2 separate regions of the Homo sapiens genome follow, and region 2 is linked to region 1. Evidence: promoter capture Hi-C in 16 types of primary human blood cells and fetal thymus (Javierre and others, 2016). All regions are on one chromosome and are shown on one strand. The core of a region is centred on a gene start or on the middle of the fragment in contact, and the rest is flanking DNA. Distances in the headings are between cores, read along the strand shown.

Region 1 (6,010 bases), core at 1,738-4,237:
TGAGGTTCAGCTCTGAAAACCCACCATCCTGGTGGTTCCCTTTTTCCTAATAAAAAATAAAGTTACATTTTAAGAAACCATCAGAAGCTCTATTTTAAATTCGTCCTGAAAGCATGTGATGCAGAAATCAGGCCACCACACTTTGACTTTGAAAATATTTTATTTGAATAGTAAATAGTTATACAGTTGAAACAGTTCTATTGAAGCTTTCTATAAATAGCTAACAATTAAGAAAATAATGTATGTAGAAAAGAGATTGCATTTAAAAGTAAGAGCTGTCGGTTGTACAAGGGCCCTGGGGACCCTCGAAGCAGAATAAATGATAGGTTGTCTGTAATTCACTCAGATAGGTATAAAAGTTAAAACTTTAAGCAGATCCCTTTAGAAAAAGGCTCTCTTCTAAAACGCACAGTGGAATGTCAAGAGTGGCAGGGTGGGGAGGGGGCAGCGCGCCAAAAAAATCTGCAATCAAATAATATCATAATCTTCATAATTAATATAAATAAATAAAGAATAAATAACAATTACTCATAAATCAACATATACATTTAGAGGGAACTGATAGTCCTACCTCAACAAAGATGATCAAACCAAAAAGTCTTACGTGAAACACTGAGGCAGTTACTACAGCATCTTCGGAACACTCCCTTCCCTCCCCCCACAAAACAATCCCAGACAACAGTTCAAGGCATTTGTGGCTATACTAAAGAAAACTCTTTTTTAAGCAATTTGATTTGTTCACATACAAAAAGGTAAAGCCAGACTCCAGCAGTTCACAAGCCATAATAAAGCTAATCGTGTGGGAAGTTCAATTTACAGCCTGTGAAATATAAAGGCATTTATTCCTCAAGATTCACCCAAAACAACCCGTACGCTACATACATAGAGAGCAGAGATTGGTAGGCGAGGCGAGACCAGACCGCATTTCTAGACCATGAACACAGCGAATACTAGCAAGAAAAAAAGCTTCTCCCCGCCAAGGGGAGGCTTCCAACCACGAGACAAACGCGTACAGCTTTTCTCCCTTGTACAGAAAGAGACTGACTCCTGTTGCGCCATGGGGGAGGCGGAGGGACACAACGTAAAAGTGGGGGTTCCAAAAGGAGTCAAAAGGAGAGTATGGGGTTACCGTCACGCCACACCGAGAGAAGCGGAGACGACACTTTCACCCGGTGGGGGCGGGGGCGAGGCTCCCCCAGCGCGGACTCGGGTTCGGGGAGTGCAGGGCGCACTCTCTTTGTGGGTCTCCAAGCGAAGGCACAGTTCGGGGGCCGGGGTGGAGGGCGCGCTCTAGCAGGCCGGGCGCACGGGCACCTGCAGGAGGATCACCTGTCTGTTTTCGGATGGGTGGCACTTGTTGATGTGCCGCGTAAGGCCGGGCGAGCTGTAGAAGGTGGCCGGGCAGTACTTGCAGGGGAACACCTGGGCGGCGTGCAGCAGGCGCAGGTGGCGCTCCTGAGCGCCCTTGCTGGCGAACGACTCTCCGCACACTGGGCACAGGTGGCACTCGGCGGACGCACTCAGGCCCAGCACGCCGGCCCCCTCGCCGTCGCCGGCCGCCTCCTGGGGCGCCTTCTCGTCGGGCCCGGGGTACAAGGCCAGTAGGTCCTCGGCCGGGGGCGCTAGCGGCGCGCCCTTGGCCTGCAGCGCCTGGTGGTGCGCCAGCAGGTGCTTGCGTAGGTAGGCCTGGCGGCGGAACTTCTTGGCGCAGTGATGGCACTCGTAGAGCCCGTCCTCGGAGCCCGACTCGGACACGCCGCCGGGGCTCGGCGTGTCCCGGTCGCTGCCGCCGCCGGGTGCCTCCCGCGCCTCAGCCCTGGCTGCTGCTTCTGGCTCCGGCGCGCGGGCGGCGGCGGGCGCGGGCCGCGGTTTGTGCCAGCGGCGGTGCGAGGCCAGGTTGGCCGGGCAGCTGAAGACCTTGGCGCACTCGGGACAGCGGTACTCCACACGCACGATGCGCGAGCATTTGTGCTGCGCCAGCGCGAACGGGTCGGCGTACTCCTCCTTGCACAGCTGGCAGATGAACTCGCCCAGCGGCCGCGCCGCGCCCCCCGCGCGGCCCCGCGGCGCCTCCACCGGGCCCTCCTTGATCTTGAGCCCCAGCACGGGCGACGTGGTCACCTCGTCCTCGAAGTGCAGCTTGCGGATGGCCTTGGGCTTCTTGGCGCCCGGGGCCTTGACTGCCTTGGCGGGCGGCTCCGCGGCGGTAGGGGGCGGGGGCCGCTTTCCCGGGGGCCGCAGGGCGGCGGCAGGGGGCAGTGGGGGGCCGGGGCCCGGGCCGCGGGCCGCCTCGGCGCCAGCCGAGAACGCCGTGCCCATCTTGAGCTCGGCGGGCGCGAAGAGCAGCGGGTCGCCGCCGCAGGTGCCGCCTCCGCCAGCTCCGCTCGCGCCGCCGCCGCCGCCCCCTCCGAGCAGCGCGGCGGGCGTGGGGAAGGACTCGGCCGAGACCGGCGAGCCCAGGTTGAAGCTGCGTTCGAAGTACTTGTGCTTCTCGTGCTCGCGGCTCACGGGCCGCGTGGGACTGTAGAGCGGCGCGGGGTGCGCAGCCTCGGGGTTGCCGAAGTGCGCGGCCCGCGGGCCCTGCGGGGGTGGCTGCGGCCCAGGCGCGCAGGCAAGCGCGGCGGCGAGCGCTGCATGGGCGCGCTCCGCGGGCGGCGGCGGCGGCAGCGGCCCGGGGACCGGGCTCGGCGCCGGGGGCTCGGCGCGGGCGCCCCCGCAGCTGGGCGAGAGCAGCAGTGCGCGGTCGCCGTCCTCGCCGCCGCGGACCCGGTAGGAAACGGGCGTGGACTTCTTGCTGCGCTTCACCAGGAAGCCGCGGGGCATGTTGGCGCGGCCCGAGGGCACGGCACTGGCTCGGTCCCCCCTCCGCGCTCGGCCCCGGCGGCCCTCAGTGCCCCCGGCCCATTGCCCGGGCGCGGCGGCTGCGGGACTCGCGTGGCGCCGGCGACGGCTCGGCCCAGCTCTGCGCCCTGCACGCGCGTCCCTGTCCCCGGGCCCGGCAGCCGCTCCCTTTTAACGGGGGGAGGGGGCCATTGTTCTCGCCTCCCGCTTCCCCTGGAGCCAATCAGCGCGTCCGCAGCTCCTCAGCCTGGCAGGGTGGGAGGGCGATGGGGCGGCCAAAAGGGGGCCGGGACTCGGGGGTCGCCCGGTAGGTGCGGCAGATGTACCTGAGGGCGCGGGGCCCCCGCGCGCGCCCCTGGTCGCCCCGCCCGGCGCCGCCGCCCCGCCCGGTCCAGGCACACGCCCGGCCCCGCCTCCCTTCACGGTCTGCTGCTTCTCTATGGGGAGGCGCACGTGCCTGGGCTTTGTGTCTCTCCTCCGGGGGGCGCGGAGCCGCCAAATGGGCCCGTCCATCAGCGCGACAATGCACGCCCCCCTCCCGCGCGGGGATTACCCGCGGGTCGCTAGCAAAATAGCAACAAAGGAGAAGAATGGCCCCAAATATGTCAGGAGGGTTCAATCCGCGAGCCGGAGCCGAGGGGGAAGTTGTGCGCGCTGATTGGGTGGGGGCGGGGGCGCGCCGGGGCGGTGCGGGGGAGATCGTTGCGGAGGCGCAGTGGCTCCGCGTGGTGTTTGGGAAATAAACAAGAATCCGAGAGAGCAGCAGGGTCCGGACGGCCTCCGCCCGGACCTTGGACGGATGGGCCGCTGGACCCAAGAGGCCAAGCAAAAGGGTTCCCCGGGGTTCCAAGTGTGGACAGGGGGCCCGGCCTTCTGGCAGTGGCCGAGGGCGATGTTTGTGCTCGCAGCCTCCGCGCGCCCACGGGGCTAGAGAAGGTTTCTTTCGAGTTTGAGAAGGAATTGGCACGGCCTTCTCAGTCTCCCGAAAGCGCGGGATTGGAGCGCGGGCGGGCTGGGCTGGGTTCCCAGAGGAACGTGAATTTCTGAACTTTTGGGTTCTTGGAGGCTTGGGAATGGCATCTTTGGCGGGGCCCGACCCAGGCCGCCCGGAGCTTCCGCGTGGTCCAAGGCTCGGTTAATCCGGGTCGAGTTGGCCGAAGCCCGAAACGCGCGGTCGGCCTCGTGCGCCCCAGTGAAGTTGGCTTTCTCCTCCCCGCGCGGCCTCATGCATTTTCATTCCGAGCGGGCATTTTGTTTGCCGGTTGACATCAGATGCTAAATCAAGGGCTCCAATCAAGGCGCTGCGAAATAAAGGGGCTGCCTGTCTGGGCGCAGCCCCCACGGAGCCGTGCCCCCTTCACCTTTGTGAAGGAAATTAACCTCCTGCTATTGAGCTCCGGTCGCGGCCAATCTGGACGCAAAAGAGACGCGTGCTGGACGGGGGGAGGGGGGGCAATCTGTACTCTGAGGCAGGCTGAGGCCTCCGAGAGGACAAGCCGCCTCCCCTGTGCCACCAGGAAGAGACAACAGCGAAGATTCCCCCCGCCCCCACCCCCACCCCCACCTCCGCTGCCGTTCCGTTTGGACCCAGACTGGGCCGCCTGCCTCCATCCTCTGTCCAGCCCAGCCCCGAGGAAACACAAAAGGCAGAATCTTCGGGGGACAGGGCAGAGAACCCCACGAGTGCGTAGTGGCCCTGATCGTCCAACACTGGGGAACAAATAGCCAAGCCACATAAAATGTCATATGCTGTGAGGAAAATGTCACTTTATTGAAAGAGAAGGAAACATTTTTCTGCAAAGCTTTGTATACCAGACAGATTTTGCTGAGTTTTACTTACGCTTAATTCCACTGAAGGTATTTAATTGTTTTGGATTTTCCCTCTGAAAATACCCTGGCGTAGAAATTAAACATGTAAAAATAGAGTCCACATGAGTCATAAGTTGTGATGGGGACAGTTGTTAGGCTTAATTAATTAAGGGGTTAATCAGGTTGGTTAATCAAGGGAAAGATATTTGATAATTTTATGTTTGTAATATTTTAACTCACACACTGAAAAGGGAAGAATGCATATAGTGAAATATATTTTGAAAAGTCTCACCCTAGTTTTAAAAATGCTGTGGTGAGTGCTAGTCTCCCCAAAAGTTAGAAATCTTAAAATGAGTTTATCTAAAATTTATAAACATATTTCTATCTAAAAGTAACTGATGTTATTTCCTTGCTCTTTTGAGCTCTGATTAATAGTGCTGATGAAATTAGAAGTGGGAAAAGGATTCCGAGACAGCTTTGGCCAATTTTATTTTCTAATCACGAATCCCATCTGGATTGTAGAATAGCATAGGGCGGGGGCTCGGCCTGCCCCATTCGGTCTTGCATATGTAACACTCCTTCCATTCAACAGATAACAGAGAGTTAGTCACCTTGTGAATCCTTTAAAAATAACAACACCCATAATTGTAAATAAGCCGTGGGGATGGGAAACCGGCACCTCTACCAACAAAAAAAACAAAACAACTCCTGCGTGAGTGAATTCAAACAGGGCTCTGAATTTAGCCAAGGGAATCTATTAAACGCTACTGAGATACTGAGATTCAATGAATCCGTTTCTTTTTCTTTATTTGTGGCTTCCAGTCTTGCTAGCGTAAATGAAATCTGCTTTCAGACGGGTACAGTCAAAATAAATGGAAACTTGAAAGGTACTAGTATTGGAAACTAATTTCACCACCCGGGGCTGGAAGGAGTTAGGCTGCGCACGCGCGCACGCACACACCAGCGACCTCCAAGCAGGTGTAGCCCAGCCCGGGCCGTGGATCGCAGCCGCCTTCTGCGTGATTTTCTCAGAACCTGTGCACCCGCATGCATGGGGACATCGGGTCGAGATATTTGTCTTCGCCTGGGAAGAGCAAAGCGCCATCACAGTGCGCCCCCGACGCCGGCCTTGGCGCACGCGATTCGGAGAATGGGCCGCGTGAAGTTAAGTTGGGGGAAACAGCGCGGATTTGCCCCCCTCCAGGGGGGCTTCGCGAAAGTCAGTGAACATAAGGATCCAAGGCAGAGCACCCAAGGGGCCTTCCCCGGCTTCAGGTGACTCCTCCCCTTCCTTCGGGGTCCTGGCCAGCGCTTTGGAAAAATCCCGGGCCTCTTCACTTTCCCTTGCGGACCCCGCGGT
Region 2 (5,621 bases), core at 1,295-3,794, 1.2 Mb before region 1:
CCCCCAGCTCATGTTGGTTCTCCCCTTCTCTCCCACCCTCTTTCAACAGCATCATTTTTCCACCCTTAACAGCCACCTAAGGACAGTTATCTAGTGAACACAGACCTGGGGTAACTGGTAATAGTAAAGTGAAATGCTTATGTTTTTCCCTGCAGTAGGGCAACATTTTTCATCTCTTATTTTCCTTGGCCAGACGGAAGATGCCATTCAGGGAACCCCAGGTGTTTTGAAGATGAAAAGGAAGGTAGGGGGCCTGGCTCAGTGCTTATTAACCACAGAGAGAATTTGGTTCACTTCAAGAAATAGTAAAATAATGGCAATGGAGAGACAATGACTGTTAATGAATTCATGTGAGTAAAGTGCGAGGTGACCAGTTTGGGGACATGCAGTCCTAAGGCCGCCTTCTGAAGAAGGAAAGCAAAACGATTGTTTTCTATTAGAACAGAGTATTTACTTCCCTTTCCTGCAGCACCCAGGGCCACCGGATTCCATATTCCGAGGCCAGGGCTGCCTCTCCCAGTGCTCCGGCTGCCCCTCAAGTTAAATAAGGCAGGTGACATGCGACACTGGAGTCGACCACCGCCCGAGGCAAGAATAATTTCAGGTGCTCCCTCAGCCAGGTGAACTGCTCCGCTTCCCAAAATCCTTCCCTCAGGGCTCAGGAGACCCCACCCTCAAATCCCGCCCACCCACAGAGTTGGGCATCTCTAGCACACTACCCTTGCTGTGTCAGATCTAGGTCCCATGAAACGTATCAACTGCCTGGAAAATAAAACAGCCTCCCAGGGGCCCGTAATAAAAGGAAGCCAAGAGCAGGGGAAAGAGGAAAGCTACGGAAATAAACCCCAGAGACTGCCTTTAATCCTGGACAGGTGGCATTTTGGCACAAGCGCACTGAAATCACTTTCCTCCTGGGCTGCAGGGGTGAATCCCTTTCCCGGCAAGACCGACACCCCTCAACCTGGAGAGGAGATCGTGCTGGGGGAGGAGCCTGGAGCCGGGGCGAGAGGTCTGTGACCTCCCGCGAAGTCGTGCTATCGGCCTTGGATCCGCGTATCTAGTGTAAACGCGGTTTCACACATAAATAACGTGCCACATCTGGCCCTTTGGTTTTATGGCGTCTTAGCGACCGAGCAATTTATAGATGGCGACCTTGTTAACCAGCAGTCCGGGCTCGCCAGGAGCTGCGGAGTCCAAGGCACTGCTGGGGACGGAGGAGGGGCGAGGGTCAGGAGAAACCTGGGGTCCCAGATCTCCTGCTCAGAGGGGCGCAGGAGGGAGGGAATCTACCCGCGCGTTTGGGGGCAGGGGGCCGAGGCGGGGTGGAAGCCCCCTCCCCGCAAAGCCTACCATGTGGCAGCTGAAAGAGCCATCGAAGCCCAAGTGTGTTTGCGCTCATACCCAATTTATTACCGCTGAACATATGGCCAATATTTTGACTCACGTCAGTCCGGCAAGGAAAACAAACAGAGCGCGCGCGGCGCGGGGGAGCTGCCCCCTCCGCTGGGGCTGCGCGGTGGCCGCGGGGCCGGAGCTAGGAGGGTGGGGCCGCTGGGCCGGGAGCCTGGAGCCAGGAGCCCGGAGCCGGGAGGGGGAGCGCTCGCCGGCCGCGTCGAGCCGCCGCCCGACCGCCCGCGACTCCGCAGCCGCCCGCGACTCGGGATAAAGAGCGGCCGGGACCTGCGCGCTCGCCCAGCCGAGGCTCCAGCGGCGCAGTCGCGCTCCAGGTGAGCCTCCAGCTCGCACGCGTTTCCGGTGAACGCGGGATGGGGATGGCGCGGGGCACCCGGCGGAGCCCGGGAGCCGCAGCGGAGCCCGGCGGTGGCGATGGAGGAAGCCCGGCGTCGCCCTCGCTGCCAGGCGCTGACTGTCTGGTCCTCCTGCCACAGCCGCCCGGCGCGGGAACGCGCTCCGGGCACGGTCACCGCGGCCTGCCAGCAGAGAGGGGTCTCGGGGCACCGTCGTCGCCGCCGAGCGGCGCCGGAGCTCGGGTTCACGGCGGACCCCGGTTATGAGCCCCTCGCTCTCCCGGGTCCTGACTCGGCTCGATCCCCAAGCCGCGTAGTCCGGACGCAGCAGGTGGGCAAGTGCGGGCCTCCGAAGTTCTCCCCGACTTTGCGGATCACGGCAGGAGTGGCGAGCACTCGAGGACGGGCAGGGCCCCTCTGTCGCGCCTGCAGTCAGGAAAAGTTTTACCAGCCGCCGAGGCCAGGTGATCCCGCCGCTGCGCACTTTCCGGTGCGGTCAGGGAAAGCGGGACTGTCCCAGGGGCTGGGAAGGTGCGGGGCTGGGAGGCGGAGGAGGAGGGAGGGGCGCGGCACCCGCGGCGGTCCCCGCCTGCGGTCCCCTGAGCCCCGCCTGGTAGGGCGCGCGGTGGGGGAAGGGCGCAGAGCGAGGGGGGTCCGGGTAGGTGGAGTACTAGATAAAGACGCGCCTTGAAATGCGGCGGGGCTGTCGCCGCAGCTCCGGGAGTAGAAGGCGGAGCGGGCGCGCGGAGCGCCTGGCTAGCTCCCTCCCGATTGCCCGGGGCCGGTTGCGCCTCGGCTGGCGGGGCCGCGGTGAGGAAGGGGCGGCCGCTGCACCCACCTCCACCGGGTAAGTCGCCCCCTGTGCGTCGCAGGGAGCTCGGGATCGGGGATTGAAACAGAGGCAGAAGTCCCGAAGGTAATTTGGAGATGGCGCCCAGTGGAGACAGGGGCTTCTCCTCAGACGGAACTGGGACGTGAGGGGACGGTGGTGATGAGCACGAGGGCAAGTGGTGGGAGTCGCAGACAGGAGGAGCCGGGGCTGAGGGCCCGCGCAGTGGACTGAGGTCTCTGGAGAGGCGACTGAAGACTGGAGTTTGGGAGGCGAGTGTCGCCTGGGCCGCGCCCGGCGCCGGACAGTTCTCGTTTGTGTCAGTAGAGATCGCCAGAGGATCAGAAATGAACCTCGGTGGGGTCCTTGTCTCCGAGGGGCGCCCCCTCCGCCCCAACCTCCTCCCACAACACACACGCACACACTACCAGGAGGCCCTTTGGAGCTCCTCTGGCGCCTTCTCGACTTTAGTGGCTCTTGGGGGTGGAAAGGGGACGTTGCGTCTAGGGGAAGGTTGTGAACCTCTGGGGCTCACATTGGAGAGAGAGAGACAGAGCCCTAGGAACCCCCTCTCTGTGCCCGAGGGCCCAAGGGTGCATTCCCTGTCCTTCCCGGAACCAGCCCTTAGCTCCAGCTAAGAGCGTGCCTTCTCCGCGCCACCGACAACTACTTTTCACATCAGCCTGCCCGACCCAGCTTTAAGTGCTGAATGCAACCCGTTAGGAGAGCCGCTTGTTTTCCAAAGTCTTGTGGTAATGATTTTGTCACGTGTTAAGAAGTAAATTCAGATAAGAGAGTGCTTTCAGCGCGTGTTTCCTGGAGAAACCCAGATCTCCCGTATTGAAATCGCCCTCATCCGGGGAAGGTCGGGCTTGGCTGAAAGAACGTTCCTGAAGGCAACACTGACGATGCGTAATCTCATTGTAACATATTTAGTCATTAGAGCAGCGCGAACGAATAAAGCCAAGGAGTTCGCCCAGGGGGACGTGGCGTTTGGTTCCCCAATAAACCGGTGATAATGGATTGGCTGGGACAGGCTCGTTTGGCCCGAGGGGGGCTTAAAGCTAGGTTTTTAAAGAAAATATTGGAGAGAGGCCGGTTCCATTTTGTAGCGTGCCCGGAGCCACAGTTCGTGTTCAATTTAACATCCATGAAAGTTAAACGGCTTTCCTCGCCTTTTATTTTATTGGATGCATTTTTAAAGATCTCATTAAAGTGCATTTATCAAAGTCCTAACATATGCCCGCAGGGTCTTATGCCCACACAATGAAGCTGATTAATAGAAAGACAAATACTAATTTCTATTACTATTTACATCCTTGGGAGATATGTGCCCCTTTTGTGGTGGGAGGGAGGCAGATAATTGGGAAAGTGTTGTATATTTTGCCTTGAAAAAGAATAGGGAGAAGGGAGCTCACCTAGATGCCTTCCTCCTGCATCCACAGTTAATCGCAGGGGGACTCCAGGCTCTAGGTCCCAGGATCAGTTCTCTCCGTGGCATCAATGGGGTTCCCGCCACTCTGTAGGAACGGGGTGGGGATTTTCCCCCAGACACAGAATCTGAAAGTCTCTGGGCCTGGAGAACTTATCTACCCAACTCCTTCTTAGTTGACTTGGGAGGATTGTCCATCTGGGAGGCATCCACTCATTCTTCCCTTCCTGGGGCAATTTAAAGAGTTAATATAATATGGACCAAAGGAAAAAAAAAAACTCACCTTAGGCTTGAACCCAAAGCAGGCTGAGATTTCCTTTCTTTTCACACTAATGCCCACTTTCTCGTCCACCTGTCCAATGGCTGTGAGTCTCTCCTGCCAGAGATCTGCCGGGCACGGTCTGGCCTCTCCAAAGTTGCAGACTCACACAGCTTTAGGCCTCCCCAACCCAGAGACTCCACTCTGCCACCCCACAGACAGAAGGGATTTCCTATGACCCTGTTTCCTTCTCCGGGGGCAGAAGGTGAGGGCAATTGGAGCTGGGATGGATTTTCATTTTCTGGTTAGCAAAGGTCCCAGCACGGGGTAGTACTCCTGGGGTGCATTCCCCTATTTCTTTCATCCAGGACGTGAGAGCTGACACCTCTGCTTCCTGCAGCCCCTGCTCCCGCATTGGAAGTCGAAGCCAAAGTGGGGCTGTTTTGGAGATGCCATCCTTAAGGTGAACGTCTTTATCGCCACACTCAGGGACCAGATTGGGTGACATTTTCCTTCCCCATTGATTTCAAGTGCATGCCACGCTCTGAGTCTCCAACCCAAGATAAAATAAACCTTCCCCCTCCGACAAAACCTTTGTGTCCGCGCCGTTAATCCTTGCTGGAGCAGGAAGGTGCAACGCGCTTTGTTTCCGGAGTGAATGAAGACAAACGCTTGCACCTTGGCGCTAACCAGACAATAAACTAATCCACTTGAAGGTTGTTATCTGAGATGGGATGTGCGAGGGCCTGAGAGCTCAGCCACATACTGTACCAGGAAAGGAGTTTCTTTTCAACCCTTTTTCATTCCAAAAAAAAGACGAAGAAATGAAATGAAGTCAAACAAATTAGTGTTTCCAAATAAAGGGAAAAGACCTTGTGTGTTTAATGATTGGAAGCGCTTTTGTGGGTGGGGAGTGTGAGGTGTGCCGCCTAGGGCTGCTGAAGCTTTGGGCTCCTCAAGGTCGCCCCCTCTTTAGAGCAGGCCCCAAGACCCCACCCCTACCCCCGAAGACTTTCTCTGCCCTTTACTCCCCAGGAGGACAGGGGGCAGGTACCTGCACTGCAAGCTTTCACCACCGGCTTGAACGGGGAAGGATGCGAGCGCCGTCTCCAAAGAGGTGCCCAGAACAGGGATGGGGGGAGGGTCGGATGCCGTCCACGGAGCCCACTTCTTCCACAGGCACAAGAAAGGCTCCCCTCCGTAGGGTGTGCCGAGGCCTCGCCTGCTCTCCTGTATCTTCCTTTCTTGCCTGGTTTGCTGTTGTTTAGAGCGCACCCCCACAACAGGGGGCGTAAAGCTGAGGCGTGGGAGGGCAGAAGCCGGGAAAGCAGGGTGCCTCTGGGCGGCCCCCGT

What was found. The method cuts DNA at HindIII sites, captures the fragments that hold promoters and counts their contacts. A CHiCAGO score of 5 or more calls a contact.
Region 2: a contact is called between a fragment that was not itself captured here and the fragment with the promoter of INSM1 in region 1, in 1 of 17 cell types (fetal thymus). The highest score is 5.7, in fetal thymus.

What each region holds. Positions count from the first base shown.
Region 1 is chr20:20,365,081-20,371,090 of GRCh38, reverse strand. INSM1 (INSM transcriptional repressor 1) reads right to left here and starts at 2,987. Exons shown (of 1, transcript NM_002196.3): 1 at 142-2,987. The coding sequence starts at 2,823. The coding sequence ends at 1,291. RefSeq lists an enhancer at 3,124-3,894. The HindIII fragment of the contact is 3,677 bases long and covers 969-4,645 here.
Region 2 is chr20:21,518,671-21,524,291 of GRCh38, reverse strand. It overlaps a transcript of NKX2-2 not described here. Among named protein-coding and RNA genes, the nearest start is that of NKX2-2, 7.4 kb to the right of the region's middle. RefSeq lists an enhancer at 2,589-3,403. The HindIII fragment of the contact is 5,340 bases long and covers 1-5,214 here.